2 separate regions of the Homo sapiens genome follow, and region 2 is linked to region 1. Evidence: promoter capture Hi-C in 16 types of primary human blood cells and fetal thymus (Javierre and others, 2016). All regions are on one chromosome and are shown on one strand. The core of a region is centred on a gene start or on the middle of the fragment in contact, and the rest is flanking DNA. Distances in the headings are between cores, read along the strand shown.

The links. The method cuts DNA at HindIII sites, captures the fragments that hold promoters and counts their contacts. A CHiCAGO score of 5 or more calls a contact.
Region 2: a contact is called between a fragment that was not itself captured here and the fragment with the promoter of ENTPD7 in region 1, in 1 of 17 cell types (total CD8 T cells). The highest score is 5.4, in total CD8 T cells.

The regions. Positions count from the first base shown.
Region 1 is chr10:99,656,387-99,661,540 of GRCh38, forward strand. ENTPD7 (ectonucleoside triphosphate diphosphohydrolase 7) reads left to right here and starts at 3,123. Exons shown (of 13, transcript NM_020354.5): 1 at 3,123-3,202; 2 at 3,476-3,578; 3 at 5,060-5,154. The coding sequence starts at 3,571. It also overlaps a transcript of SLC25A28 not described here. RefSeq lists silencers at 2,802-3,011, 3,132-3,351. The HindIII fragment of the contact is 2,116 bases long and covers 1,895-4,010 here.
Region 2 is chr10:99,393,098-99,398,251 of GRCh38, forward strand. It overlaps CNNM1 (cyclin and CBS domain divalent metal cation transport mediator 1), which reads left to right. Exons shown (of 11, transcript NM_020348.3): 11 at 1-1,233. It overlaps GOT1 (glutamic-oxaloacetic transaminase 1), which reads right to left. Exons shown (of 9, transcript NM_002079.3): 9 at 3,773-4,589. The coding sequence ends at 4,450. Among named protein-coding and RNA genes, the nearest start is that of GOT1, 35 kb to the right of the region's middle. The HindIII fragment of the contact is 3,598 bases long and covers 366-3,963 here.

The DNA of each region.
Region 1 (5,154 bases), core at 1,873-4,372:
CTCCCATACAGGTTCCTGCTCTGGTGAATCACAGGGTATTTTGTCAAGATGGAGAATATGGATGGAGGAGGTTTGGGTGGATATGATGAGAGTGGAGAGATAATGAGTTTATTTGGGACAATGGGGTGCCTGAAAGACAGGTGAAGAGAGATGGGTAAACTTGGAAGGGAGAGTGTAGACCACATGACACTCCTCCAAATTCCTTTAGAGGGTAGGGTGGGATGGAGTGTGGAGGGAAGGAGAATCCACAAGGGGAAATGAAGCAAAGCAAACAACTAGCACCTAATATGGGACCTGTTGGGCTGATTTTGCTCAGGGCTGGGCATCAAGCACATCTGGAGAAAAATTGCAAATGTAATTGTAAGGCAAGCCTTTAAAGAGCAGTTAAAAACCTGTTTTGAAACATAGGTTTCTATAACTTGTTGCAACATGTTGAGTTACAGCAAATGAAATAGAGAAATACTCTCAGTGCTTTTTAATTTGCCCTGCTGACTGGAAACCTCGGAACTCAGCCCTATGAGCTGTTAACCAGATAAGCATTGCTGGTTTTTGTAAAGAATTATGCTTGACAAATGCTTGAGGGCATATGGATTTATTGAAGGAAGTATTGTCCAAACCAGACTGACAAAGAAAGTTTTACAAAGAAAATATAATGAAAAAATGTTGGGATTAAAATGTAGGTCTTTTCTGTTTTATGATGTAGTTATGAAATGTAAATTAGAGGATGTTTCAATGAACTTTTGAATTATAAGTTAATATAGTTCATAAACCATAGGAATTAAGTACTATTTTAAAAATAGGAATTATACTTCCACTCAAAAACACCTATTTTGTGGAACACTAAAGTTTGAAATATATATGTATAGAGATTAGACTTAGAACTCACAGAAGGTAAATTCAAGAAATTTTTAAAAATTACTCCAAAACATTATTTTAGTTCTTTCCATATCTATTTTGTTCTAGGAACTGAACTGGGTTCTGAAATAATAAAAATAACTGGTATCTGTATAATGTTGTGGTTAATCCCAACTTTATGCAACTATTCTATTCAATGTGGTTTCTGGGGGTCCAGATAAAATATAACACTTGAAGCAGAGTGGGGATTGAGGGACAGAGAAAAAAAAACTGAGAACTGAGAATTGAAGAAGAAAGGCAAATTAGGAAGTTCAACAAGGTTAGGAGAGTAGTGGAGCCAAAAAAACAATAGTCATGAGAACTGAATATAGAAACTGGACAATGGCTAGATCTTATATGACAATTAGAACTCTGACCCACAACCTCTACAGCAACCAGCCGAGAATAATCAGGACTTGGTCAATGACTCAGTTTCCCTGTTTTTTGCCGCCTCCTTTCTTCAACTCAGAACCCACTAAAGACAGCCAAATATGCTACCTACCCCAAACCAATCACCTAAGAGACACTACTTTTGTTAGCCCACCTCCAGCTTTCCCATGCTAATACCCTCAAGTCAGAGTATACATGAAACCTTCCCTTTTTGTTCACTACTAAGCTTTCCTGGCCAGGTGCAGCTGCTCATCCCTGTAATCCCAGCACTTTGGGAGGCTGAGACAGGAAGACTGCTTGAGCCCAGGAGTTCAAGACCAGCCTGGACAACATAGTGAGACTCCATCTCTACAAAGAATTAAAAAAAAATAAGCTGGGCATGGTGGCACGTGCCTGTAGAGCCAGCTACTCAGGAGGTTGAGGTGGGAGGATCGCTTGCTCAGGAGGTCGAGGCTGCAGTGAACCACGATCGCACCACTGCACTCCAGCCTGGATGACAACAGAGTGAGACCCTGTAGGTAATTAAGTAAGTAAGTAGTTTTCCTAATGTCCTGACAGGCTTTGAGTCGGCCAAATGCAAGTGATGGTGACTGACTCCCTTGTCATAGTAAGCTTTGAATAAATAAAGCATTTGGGTGGTCTTCCTCCCCGATCCCCCCCATTCATTCATTTGCTTATTAATTATACATTAGTTGTGTTTTATCTGCCAGGCAGTGGCCAGTATTGGGAATATGTGGAAGCAAATAGTCCCTGCCTTCAAGGATATTCTGTCTAGTGGGACAGACAGACAGACATATACGTATAATAGTAATTCAACGTGCTAAGTGAAACAATAGGCATGTATAAAAAAGGTGTAGTAGGTCAAGTAGGGCTTTTAGGGGAAGGCGACCCTTAAGATGGGTGGTAAGGGATGAGTAGGAGGTGATTTGGCTAAGAGGCTGGGACGGTTATTCAAGGCAGGTGGAGGGGCAGAATGAGCAAAACAGGACGCGTTGCTGGAGCGTGGTAAGGAAGGCAAGTAGCGGCAGAGGACGGCGGTAGGGCGGATCGTGGGGCGCAATGGATGTGCCACGTTGGAAAGAGCTTGGACTTTATGCCGTCCTCCTGGAAATGAGATAACGGCTGGTGTAAGCAAGAAAGAAACACACACACACCCACGCGCGCGCGTCGTTTCCTTTGTGTTACTGTAAGGTCAAGGAGGGCGGCGACACAGAAATTCATGATGACTGGCATAAGCAGACATTCAATGAATGAATGAATGGACATAAGCACTTTGGTGTAAACGTCATTGTCTTCGATTTCTGTTTTCTCACGGGGCAAGACAGTGAGGTCGGGGCATCAGTTTGGGAGGTGATAGGGAAGGTTTAAGGTGAGAGAACTGCCATTCTGGTAGGGAGGGTCAGTGGGCACAAAACCAACAATAGGTTATGGGCAAGGGATGCGCTTCGGTCGCGAACACCCTGAACCCACCTACCGGAGCTACTCTGTCCCAGGAGCGGCCGTGGAGAAAGCAACCAGCCGAGAGTTCGCGCCCCAGGGAGGGAAGCGGGCACAGGGCCGCCCAGCGCCACTCACCTGTGAGCTCTCCGCGGGCCCTGCAGGCGGAGCCTCGGTACGACGCCTTTCCGATTGGGCGCGGCTCAAAGTCCCGGGGCGGGCATCAGAGGCCGAGCGCTCTAGGGGATTGGCCACCCTGGCGGACGGACGTGCTGCTGACCGAGCTGGTTCGCCCCCGGTTCGGCTCGTGGAGAGCCGGCCCCTCCGTGAGTCTTCTGTCAGTCATTGGCTCCCTGCGGTTTCCTTGGGGACGTGGCGCCGCCGCCGGCCGGGCCCTCCTTCCGGCTGGGCAAGGGGCCGCGGGGAGCAGCTCGGGACTGAACCGAGAGGTGCCGAAGGAACCGGCGGGCCGCTTGATCCCGTGAGTGTGGGCGCGAGAGGGCTGTGGGACCCGGAGGGACGGGGAGAGGAAGCGGGACCCACACCCCGCCACCTGGGGACGACCGGTTCCTAGAGGACAGAGCTGGCCCACGAGAACGCCCCGCTCCCAGGATGCCCGGGTAGGGTCCCCTGGGCCTGAGGAACCAGAGCAGACGGAGCGGGAGCCTGGGGAGGAGGTGGGAGCCGTGGAATTCCCGTGCAGGTTTGTCTCGTGGGCTCAGTCGGACAGAAGCCTGAAATCAAATCTTTCTAGGCTGCAGACGTAGGAGATGCCTGGGACAAGGAGGCCACCTTCTCAGGGCAAAAGAAAAAGAAGGTGACAGGCGTTGAGACCACCGAAGGGAACCCATGGCTAGGTAAGGCTGCACACTTTCCCTCCGGCTGGGAGCACGGCAGAGGATGGCAGGCAGGTTGGGGGGCCCTGGGAGGCTGTCCCAAGTGAGGTTTGCCCTGGAGCTGCACTTGGACTTTGTATTCTGGTTAGTTGGATGCAGAGACGATCAAAGTTGTATTATTTCGAGGGCTGATAAATAATAGTTTCTAGCCCATAGACCAGGAGTGGTAGAGTGAGTCGGCTTGCTCAGCTCTGTAAAGTGCAAGGTTGTAACATTGATTCAGATTCGCATCTGAGCAAGGCTAGGTGCCACTTGAGGAGGTTAAACAAAGAAGTTTTTTTGTTTTTTGTTTGCAGTGAACTTTAAAAGCAGACAGACCGAGGTCCTTTTGAATCAATATACAAAGTGAACTTCACAGATGAATACACTTATCCATACATTATAATAACCTGAAGCTTTTAAAAAATATTAATGTGGATCTACATGCACCAATAAGGGAAAGTTATAAAATAAAGTGGGGGAAAGATGCAGAACAGCAGGTATGGTGGACTACCATTTGTGTAAAACCGAGGGAATGGATACGCACACACACACACACACACACACACACACACACACAGAGATATATTACTGTAAATATATTGGTGTATATTTATGCTTGTGTATCCGTAGAATATCCCTGGAAAGATACACAGCAACGGCCAGGTGCAGTAGCTCACGCCTGTAATCCCAGCACTTTGGGAGGCCAAGGCAGGCAGATCACCTGAGGTCAGGAGTTCAGGACCAGCCTGGCCAAGTAGAAACCCGGTCTCTACTAAAAATACGAAAATTAGCCGGGTGTGGTGGCAGTCACCTGTAATCCCAGCTACTGGGGAGGCTGAGGGAGAAGAATCGCTTGAACCCAGGAGGTGGAGGTTGCAGTGAGCTGAGATTGCGCTACTACACTCCAGCCTGGGCAACAGAGCAAGACTCCATCTCAAAAAAAAAAAAAATTACACAGCAACTGGGTAGTAATGTTTGCCTCTGAGAGATTGTGGGGTCAGGGCAAGAATCACTTTTCACTATACAATATATCCTTTTAAACTGATTTGTCTTTTACTATGTGCTTGTATAATCTGGTAAAACATTTTTAAAATCAGTTAAATAAATTTTCTGACCATCCTGTTTCTTGACAGAATTCTTGGTTGGGAATACTGTAGTTGCTCTGATTCTCCAATGTTATGAGGTTGCCCAGGGAGACTGGTGATCTTTTCACTAACATGAGATTAAGTCTTTGAATTGCACTCAAAGTGCAGTTTGGAAAAAGGGCAGATAAGGCTTTTCTGATATATATAGTAGAAGCACCATGAGCTTCTTCTAAAATTAGAGATGACAAGAACATTTAGACTTCTGTTGGCATGGATTTTTGCCTTTATTAGGAGGGTTTTATCCAATTTTAAAACGATATTTAAGCACTCAGTTGTAGAAATGTTTCAGACTTACTAATGTTTGTCTAATTTCAGGATCAGTTTTTCCTACCTCTGCCCAGCCTCCTGGTACTTCACTGTGCCCACAGTGAGTCCATTTCTCCGTCAGCGGGTGGCATTCCTGGGACTCT
Region 2 (5,154 bases), core at 915-3,414, 260 kb before region 1:
AGATGTTCTCAGTCAAGTACTCACTGAACTCATTGATCGAGTGCTGTCTGCTAAATCTCCAAACCATTCCCAAACCTTTCCCCGTAGTATACCATCCAGCTTCCCTCCCCTTCCTCCAAAACCCTCCCTCCCACCTCCCCACACCCATTGAGTCATTCACAGGCAGGAGGGAGACTGATCATTCCTCTGGGTTATCTGCATCTCAAAAGAAAATGCTTACCCACAGGAACTGTTAACTCAGGGGTTCTTAACTTGGGGTCCATCACCCCAGGGGGTCCATAGTTGGACTTCAGAGGGTCTATGAAACCCCTAAAACTGTCAGTATTTAATGTATTTATTCTTGTATGTTTTTTCCAGAGCATTAAAGCTTTCATAAGGTTCTCAAAGGTCTCAGACCTACAAAGAGTTAAAACAAACAGACAAACAAAAAAAAACACTACTATTTTAAATAGTGGAACTTTCAGCCCAGCGTTTCTGCAATGCAGAGTGAAGTGGATACTGGGCAGTTCGAGACAGGTTTTTAATCATAAGTGGTCTTTTCAAATGTCCATCAATTGATGGGGAAGGCTGGCACCCACCAAGAAGTGGAAGTCCTCAGAAATTCTCGGCACACCCTAGAGTATTGTACAACCAACACCCCCACATAACTTTGTCCCCTCTTCCCCAACAACCCAGAGCAGGTGTTGCAGACAGGAGGGCCACAGCGTGTGGAAGTAAAGACTTTGGAGCTAGAGAAGCCTTTTCCAGCAATGATTATTGACTTCACCACACCCCTTGCCTGGCCTGGCCTGAGGCTCAGCAGTGCATGACTTCTCGTAGATAACTTCACAGTCATCCAGTCCCAACACCTGCTCTTGCCTGGTAGGAACAGGCGAAGTGTCAGCCCTCAATGTTGGGTACTTAGACCCAAACCAATAAATGGTGAGTTTTGAACAAGAACTACCATCATGCAGGCTTCTTGCCCAGCTGACCACTGGCCCCGGGGTGCCTGCCTGGCTGGTCTTCATCACCTGAGGCCACCAGGCTCAAGCCACTGCTGTTGCATTACACCCATCCCTTTGCAAAATCCCTATGGAGCCTGTCACCACTCCCCTCCCTATATACCCCCACCCCACAAAGATTTTCTTCAGGTTAAAAAAAAAGTTTAAAAAAAAGATTTTAAAATAAAGCATTTATGAAGGCTTAATAAATTGTAAATAATTTTTAAATAAAATGAAAATGCCTTTCCTGGAATGTGGCTGTTTTCCTTGCCCCTGGAATCTTCTGACGTGGCTTCATTTGAGATGCAGGTTGAGTGATGCCCACGTGTGATGATCTCACCTGTGCACCACCTGCCTGAAGAGGCATGCCGCTCCGGGCCAGGTGTGAGGCTGCGGTGAGGTCACGGGGAAGCCTTGGCACACTACTTTGGGAGGCCAGATGGTAAGATTTTGCAGGAGTGAATGCCAGAAATGAGAAGTAAAACCCAAATGAGAAGCCAGTATGCATAAAGACGAGGAAGGAACTAAGACGACAGTGAGAAGGGCTGGCATTTGCTGAACCCATGTGATGGGTGAGGTGCTGTGCTGGGTGCCGTCCAAATTCAGGGTCTTGGGGGCTAAACCCAGACAAGCCCCTGAGACAGAATGTTGGTCACACTAGCTCGCTTCTGCAGAACCTTCAGAAAGGAGTCCAAGTGGCATGACTCTGGCAGTTTGCAACCAAAGGCTAGGGAACGGAACACAAGAATGGGCCAGGCCTGTTGGTCAGTTTTAAGCCGATGCTGGAGGGAGGGAACAGCCAGGCAGGTGGGAAGATGTGTTTGGGCATATAATACCTGTGTGGAAGGAAGGCTGAAATCTGACACCTACTACTCATTTCTCAAAGCAAACAGGAGGATCAGGGGCCTATGCCAAAACCTCTTAAGATTCTTCTCAGGAACCTCAGTAGAGGCTATTCATTTCACTAACGGTAATAATAAATAATGGAAACAACTATTTTGCCAAGGGCTTTATGTTCCAAGTATTCTGTTAAGTACCCATTAGCTCATTTCTTTCTCAACCACCCTGTGGAGGAGGGGTTACTGTCTGCAAGGTTACTGTCTTCTTGCTCACGGTTACACACCTGGGAACTGGCAGAGCCTGGAGGTTGGAGTGCCCTGCTCTTGAGTGAGCAAAATTGGTGAAACAATCCCACCTCTGAAGTTCACTGGCATGTCAGAGGCCTGAGGAGTCCTGCCGGCTTCCCAAACTCACAGCCCTTTTTCAGGTGAACGCAGTGGGAACCACACCAACCAACATATCTGTCGGAATAGAAGAAGGCCAGATTCCCATTGAGATGGGCTTTTTTCAAGGCTAAAAACATTTGAGCACTTTGGTACTGTCACTTAGATTTAAAGATGTGTTTATCTTTAATGGTTTTGGCAGCCCCCTAAAGAGAAAATTTTAATTTTCCCTAACAAGAGAAATTAAATACTAATAAGATGGTCAGGTAGGATTGCACTTTGGAAGGCAACATTTTAGTATTTCAGGCTTTTTTTTTTTTTGCCCCAGAGAGCCAATTTTCGTCCCCATGGAGGCAGTATCGTCCCCATGGAGAATGAGTGGTTGAAAGCGTTTGGAGAGAATGGCAGATTGACAGAAGGTAGAATCATTCGACTTCTCTGTTGGCTGCCTTCCCTTACTAACAACAAGCATCTTTACATTGGGAGGAGAACAAAGACTGATATGTTCAGAAAGCTGTGAAGAGATGGGTGGGAGGGCATCTAATCACATTCACTCATGAACTTCCACCAGCCCAACCACACACTGGCAGAGTGAGTGTCCTCTGAAGAACTCCTGGGGCTCCAGCCAGACAGGGAAGGATCTGGAAACCACATCCTGTGCAGAAACAAAAGTGGTGGGGGAGAGGCAGTTCATGTGGAAAAGTGTAAACAAGGAATGACAACTGCTACTTTCAAATATTTGAAAGGTGGTAGATTAGAAGTGCCAGTAGATTTACTATCTGTGGTTTAAAGGAAGGAAAGGAGGGGCAGGGGAGTGGAACAAAGATCAAATTCTGGTTCAAGGTAGATGAACTTTTACCGTGAGCAAAAGGTAAATGAGCCTCTTTTTTTTTAATTAAGAGGCCCCACCAGCAGAAGGGGATGCCTCACCAGGTATTTAAAGAATCCATCACCACTACCACCCCACCAGTTGAAATGGATGAGTCAGAGACAATATGGAGAGACTATTTCACTGGCGGAGAGGCAGGACTTGATGACTTCTGAGGCCCCAGTCATCCCTCAGGACTGCAGGATTTTCTAACAACCCAAATGAGTCCTAGAAAGTGGCAGATCCTATTAAAATCACAAGAATTAACTTTAAATACTTAAAAACTCCAATTAATAGACCTCTTGTGTTAAGTAACATCAAACCCCACCAAATTCTACAAAATGGCCATTTGGAGCGGCCCTTGGACTCTGGAAATTGTGATGTATGTTTTTGTGGTTCTGTTTCAATAAACCAGGAGGGACTCTGACAGCAGGGAACGGGCTGATGTTCTATAATCAACCTGAGTGATGTCATCTCCTCTCACAGTCCAAGAAGTCCAGTTTCTTAAGTAACATAAGACAGCTGGCCTCCAAATGACAAGCCCGCAAAATCACCAGGGAGTTATATGGTGAGTTCACTGAAGGAAGCTATACTGTAAGAACACATTGTAGTTTTTCCTTTAGCCACTAGTAAAACCCTCTAAAGCATTCATTTTAAACTGTGGGTCACAACCCATTAGTGGTCATAAAATCAACTCCATGTCTTGATCAACATTTTTATTTTATTTTTTTAGGTGAAGTAGAACACAATAGAATGGCTCAAAAATATCAGAATGCACTACGCACATCACGAGTAAATACTGTTTGGTAAAACTTGTTTCAGTTAAATATGTACGTGTCCGTGCATGTCATGATTAAATATCCTTCTTACCACAGTCACCCTAAAGAACCAAAGCTTAGGACTAGGGACACAACCATGCAGAAAGAGCAGGGAGACCAGACACTCTGGGTTGAGATGATGAATTTAATGCCGCAGCCGACACCCACATTCACACTTTGGCTCCTTCAGACAACTTGATCTTTGGGACTAGAATTTGTACAGAGTCAAACACCACATAGAAGCACGTGGCCGCCACACACAACACTCCTTTTTAGTGAGAGGGACAAGATACCTATGTCTCATGATCAAAGTACTCTTTTATTCTTAAATAAAAATCTTAATTTGCTTTGACCTCCAAAGGCTCTAATCCCAGTCTCCAAATTCGTCTCAAGGGATGTTCTCTTCATGTGGGGCCGGTTTAAACAGAGGCTGCCTCACCAGAGCAGCCTTTCAGTCCTGCAAGTGTCTCTAATCCATGGTATGTACATGTAGGTTTGTGCAGGCAGGGAACACACATGACAGAGAACTACTTTGGTGGTACTGGACGGGTGGTGTTTCTTCACTGGATTTTGGTGACTGCTTCATGGATGGAGGTGGCCACGTAATCTAGATTTTTGGTGGTTAAGCCACTCACGTTGATTCGACCACTTGGCAGCAGGTAGATGTGCTTTTCATTGACCAGATACTCAACCTGCTTGGCTGTTGAAAACCAAAAGAAGACATAATCAGAGCAGAGGGGATCCTTAAAGCAGTGGAGGCTCAGCAATTATATGACAATTACAGCTTTACTTCTTTCCCCTTAACAGAGAGAAGCAAAACAAAAGGCGCTATTTTGTCCAACTGACAAACAGAAAAATATGCTCACTAGATTCTGGAAAGTACTCTTACTAGTTCACCTTTGAATCCCCAGAAAATTCAATATGGCTACTACTGATGGGAATTTTAATCTGAGATTGCCTTCCAACCAAGCCTTATACATTATATCCACCAGGACACCCCTATCACCTAAAAACAACCATCAGACGGACAGCGATATGAAATGCTGGCTATGAAGTGCTTCCTTTAGTTCTTCCCTAACCTGGACTTGCATTGAGTACCCGCGGCAGCCTCCCTTTGACATTTCATTTTTACAATACATTGGGTAAGGCCCCATGCATGAGGTACCTGATCAATCCTGTGTGAATTAACCAATGAGCTGAGAAATGACACAGACCTCTCTGACCTGGCACCATCAGACTTCTGTTCATTTCTCAGCTTTCTCTCA